Linked DNA regions of Homo sapiens: region 1 is linked to region 2. Evidence: promoter capture Hi-C in human tissues and cell types (Jung and others, 2019). All regions are on one chromosome and are shown on one strand. Each heading gives the region's core, a stretch centred on a gene start or on the middle of the fragment in contact. The rest is flanking DNA. Distances are from core to core; before and after follow the strand shown.

The links. The method cuts DNA at HindIII sites, captures the fragments that hold promoters and counts their contacts. A contact is called where the count stands out against the background at its distance.
Region 1: a contact is called between a fragment that was not itself captured here and the fragment with the promoter of OR13C5 in region 2, in 2 of the 25 tissues and cell types used here (H1 embryonic stem cells and thymus).

What each region holds. Positions count from the first base shown.
Region 1 is chr9:104,639,942-104,642,641 of GRCh38, forward strand. All of the region lies in intron 2 of LOC107987105 (a long non-coding RNA gene), which reads right to left. Among named protein-coding and RNA genes, the nearest start is that of OR13C9, 23 kb to the left of the region's middle. The HindIII fragment of the contact is 5,330 bases long and covers 1-2,700 here.
Region 2 is chr9:104,598,046-104,600,745 of GRCh38, forward strand. OR13C5 (olfactory receptor family 13 subfamily C member 5) reads right to left here and starts at 1,368. Exons shown (of 1, transcript NM_001004482.1): 1 at 412-1,368. The coding sequence starts at 1,368. The coding sequence ends at 412. The region is part of intron 3 of LOC107987105 (a long non-coding RNA gene); the gene reads right to left. The HindIII fragment of the contact is 7,392 bases long and covers 1-2,700 here.

The sequences.
Region 1 (2,700 bases), core at 30-2,529, 42 kb after region 2:
ACAAAAGAACTAGAATGATCAAAGCAACCCTGAGCAAAAGAACAAAGCCATAGGCATCACTCTACCTGATTTCAAATTATATTACAAAGTTATAGTAACCAAAACAGCATGGTACTGGCATAAAAACAGACATGAAGACCAATGGAACAGAACAGAGAACCCATAAATCACACATTTACAGTCAACTCATTTTATCTGAATAGGCATTTTTCAAAAGATATACACATGGCCATCAGGTATATGAAAAAATGCTCAACCTCACTAATCATCACGGGAATGCAAATTAAAGACACGATAAAAAATTATTCCAGTTAAAATGGCTGTCATCAAAAGACAAAAACAATACATGCTGACAAGGCTGCAGAGAAAGAGGATCTCTTGTATACTGTTTGTGAGAATGTAAAGTAGTACAGCCATTATGGAAAACAGTATGAAGGCTCCTCAAACAAATAAAAATGGAGCTTCTATATGATTCAGCAATTCCATACCTGGATATATATCAGGTATATATCCAAAATAAAGGAAATCAACATACTGAAAAAAAATCTGCACTCCCACGTTTATTGCAGTACCAATCGCAATAGCCAAGATACGGACTCAACCTACGTGTTCATTGATAAATTAATGGATAAGAAACTGTAGTATACACTGGCCCCACAGAAATACAAACAACCATTAGAGAATATTATGAACACTTTCTGCACACAAACTAGAAAATCTAGAAGAAATGGATACATTCCTAGACACATACACCCTCTGAAGACTGAACCAGGAAGAAATTGAATCCCTGAACAGACCAATAATAAGCTCTGAAATTGAGTCAGAAATAGTCTACCAACATAAAAAAAGCCCAGGACCAAACAGACTTAGAGCTGAATTCTACAAGATGTACAAAGAATAGCTGGTACCATTCCTGCTGAAACTATTCCAAAAAATTGAGGAGGATGGACACCTCCATAACTCATTCTAAGAGGCCAGCATCATCCTGATAGCAAAACCTGGCAGAGACACAACAAAAAAAGAAAACTTCGGGTCAATACCCTTGATGAACATCAATGTACACATCCTCAACAAAATACTTGCATACCAAATCCAGCAGCACATCAAAAAGCTTATCCACCACAATCAACTAGGCTTTATCCCTAGGATGCAAGGTTGGTTTGACACATGCAAATAAATAAATGTGATTCATCACATAAATGAATTTGACACCCCTTCACATTAAAAACTCTCAATAAACTAGGTATTGAAGGAACACACCTCAAAATAATAAGAGCTGTCTATGACAAACCCACGGCCAACATTATACTGAATGAGCAAAAGCTGGAAGCATTCCCCTTGAAAACCAGCACAATACAAGCATGCCCTCCCTCACCACTCCTATTCAACATAGTACTGGAAGTCCTGGCCGGCCAGGGCAATCAAGCAAGAGAAATAAATAAAGGGTATCCAAATAGGAAAAGAGGAAGTCAAACTGAGAGGTGAAGCCAGCTGGGCTTCTGGGTCGGGTGGGGACTTTGAGAACTTTTGTGTCTAGCTAAAGGTTTGTAAACGCACCAATCAGCACTCTGTAAAAACCCACCAGTCAGCACTCGGTGTCTAGCTAAAGGTTTGTAAATGCACCAATTAGCATTCTAGAAAAGGACCAATCAGCACTCTGTAAAATGGACCAATCAGCGCTCTGTAAAATGGACCAATCGGCAGGATGTGGGTGGGGCCAAATAAGGGAATAAAAGCTGGCTACCCCAGCCAGCAGCGGCAACCCGCTGGGGCTCCCTTCCGCTCTGTGGAAGCTTTGTTCTTTCGCTCTTCACAATAAATCTTGCTGCTGCTCACTCTTTGGGTTCACACTACCTTTTATGAGCTGTAACTCTCACTGTGAAGGTCTGTGGCTTCACTCCTGAAGTCAGCAAGACCACAAACCCACCAGAAGGAAGAAACTCCAGACACATCTGAACATCAGAAGGAACAAACTCCGGACACACCATCTTTAAGAACTGTAACCCTCACCACGAGGGTCCAGAAGGAAAAAACTCCAGACATATCTGAACATCAGAAGGAACAAACTCCGGACACACCATCTTTAAAAACTGTAACACTCACCACGAGGGTCTGCAGCTTTATTCTTGAAGTCAGTGAGACCAAGAACCCACCAGAAGGAACCAATTCCAGACACAAAACTATCCCTGTTTGCAGACAACATGATTCTATATCTAGAAAACCCCATAGTCTCAACCCAAAACATTCTTAAGCTGATAAACAACTTCAGCAAAGTCTCAAGATACAAAATCAATGTGTAAATATCACTAACATTCGTACACACCAATTCCAGTCAAGCCAAAGCCAAATCAGGACTCATTCCCATTCACAAATGCCAAAAAAAGAATAAAATACCTAAGAATACATCTAACCAGGAAGGTTAAAGATCTCTATAAGAAGAATTACAAAACACTGCTCAAAGAAATCAGAGAAGACACAAACAAATGGGAAAACACTCCATGTTCATGAATAGGAAGAATCAATATCATAAAATGGCCATATTGCCCAAAGTAATTTATAGATTCAATGCTATTCCTGTTAAACTACCATTGAGATTCTTCACAGAACTGAAAAAAAAAAAAAACTACTTTAAAGTTCATATGGAACCAAAAAAGAGCCTGAATAGCCAAGGCAATCCTAAGCAAAAATAACAAAGCTGAA
Region 2 (2,700 bases), core at 118-2,617:
TATCAAAATTCCAATGTCATTTTTCATAAAAATTGAAACAACAATCCTAAAATTTACATGGAACTAGAAAAGACCCTGCCTGGGCAAAGCAATCTGAAGCAAAAACAAAGCTGAGAGCACCATATGCTGCAGTTTTAAAATATGTTATAAAGTTATTGTAATCAAAAGAGCATGGTACTCAGATAAAAATAGACATATCAACCAATGGAACAGAATAGAAACTTATTTCCAAACACTGAAATTTATTTATTTACTTCTTTTCATTATGTATCGCAATCAGAGAAGTGTATTTTGGAGCTTTAGAACTTCGAGAGATGAATGTGAAACAGCAACGAGAACCTATCTGTTTAACCTTGGTTTCTCTAATTGATTTCCATATTGTGATTATAAAATTACTCTCACCTTTCTCATTTACTTGTTAAAATTTTTTCTTCTCAGTAGGTGTTTTACTGCCTCCTTCACATCCTTGTTTCTAAGACTGTAGATTAAAGGATTCATCATGGGAGTCATCACCCTGTAGAATATGAATATAAGTTTGTCAGTGGCATCCAAGTCATCTGAATTAAGTGTCTCTTGAGACTTGGGCTTCATGTACATGAGGAAGATGGTCCCACAGAATGTTATCACCACAGTCAGACGAGCTGAGCAGGTAGAGGAAGGTTTGCTTCTCCCCTCCGAAGAGCTAATTTTGAAGATGCTCAAAATGATTAACGTGTAAGAGACAATAATTAATAACAAAGGTGTCAATAGGAACAATGTTGTGGTCACAAGCAGGATGAACTCATTGCCTGAGATGTCAGCACAGGCCAGTTTCATGACAGCTAGAATTTCACAGGTGAAATGATTGATGATGTTATTCCTGCAGAAAGGCAATTGTACCACAAACACTGTTTGTACTGCAGAATTGACAGCTCCTATGATCCAGGACCCAGCTGCCATGGGTACATAGGCATCCTTACTCATGATGATGGGATATCTCAGAGGGTTGCAGATAGCCACATAGCGGTCAAAGGCCATCACGCCCAGAAGCACACACTCTGTTGTCCCCATGGCCAAGCTGAGGAACATCTGCACTGCACAGCCAGAAAGGGAAATGGTCTTTCTTTCTGAAAGGAAGCTCACTAGCGTGGAGGGAATAGAGGTGGTGGTGTAGCAGATGTCCAAGAAGGAGAGGTTCCCCAGAAAGAAGTACATAGGGGTGTGAAGGTGAGGGTCCAAGATGCTGATTAAAATGAGAGTACCATTCCCCAGAAGGATGACCACATACATTATGAAGATGAGCACAAAAAAGAGTAACTCAAGTCTTGGGTGACCAGAAAGTCCCTTCAGAAAAAATTCCACCAGAATGGTGTGGTTTTCCCATTCCATTTTACTCCCTCTTTAGCTTGTAAGACAGAGCATGTTAAGACAAATATTTATCTTACTCTGATTACTTTCAAGCATGTGTCAATGAATATGTGCCATAATTCCCAAGGAAAAAGAAAAATAAAATGGGAAAAGACCAAAGAAAGAAGAGAGAGCATAAAGAAAAGTCTACAGAAAAGAGGGAATTATGAATGGAGAGAGGGAAGGGAATGAATGAATGAATGAATGAATGGAGAGAAGGAAGGAAAGATAAAAGTAACATGTTTCATGCTACAGCCACTTAATTCATTTAATATCATCACAGTTCTAGGAAAGGGGTATTAGTATCCATATTTTACAGATGAATAAATCAAAGCGGATATGTTAAGTAAACTTGACCAAAGGTACATACTATATAGCAGAGCTAAGATTCAAACCGAAATATTCCTGTTGAAGTCTGAACTTTTTGTCATATTTGTCATCACATAGTAAACTGAAGGTTATAATAGAAATGAGCATTGTATTATGTAAAACTGAACACTAAACTATTTTATTGGCTATAAATCACCACACAATAGATCAATGCTCTTGTCACTCCTTGAAATTATACTATGTTACGTATATTGTCTGTCTTTCCCAGTAGAATGTAAACTTCATAAGGGCAGGTACTTATTCTTGCTTATTTCCACAGCCCCTGTAGCTAGAATAGAACAGACACCGAGGTAAATGTTCAAAAACATTTGTTGGATGCACAGACAAAATCAAAGGCAAAACAATTGCTATATTTCTTACTCTGCGCCAACCCTCTATTATTTGTTTTCTCTGTGCATTACATAATGGAGTCTGAAAAGCAAGCCTATGAGGTAATACTGTTACTCTTAGTATCACCAAGCCTATTGTGTAGAGGGGAAAATAAGGCACAGAAAAGTTAAGTAATTTGCTTAAGGTCAATTTCATAAAGACAGATAAATGAAAGAGCAAGGACTTAAACCCAAGCAGTATGGCTTCAGAATTCGAGCTCTTAATACTCAAAACTTAATACTCAGTACTTAATAACTTAATGCTTAAAGAGAATTTGCAAAGAGAATTTGGCTCATGGGCTAGAATATCTTGCAATCTCACTAACAGTATTAATATTTCAAAAGAAATATCAGATAAAAATGTGATTGGTCAGTAAGGGGATTTCAATATGGTAATTTGATAGCAGTTGATTTTGATGCTTCATATTTTGCTAGAAAAGTACTCATTTCTATAACAAATGTTTTGTCACAGAGTTGCATTTGATCATTATAATTCTTGTGTCCTCCCTTACATGAAAATTTCTCATTTTCATTATGATGCCTCTTTGACTTTTTT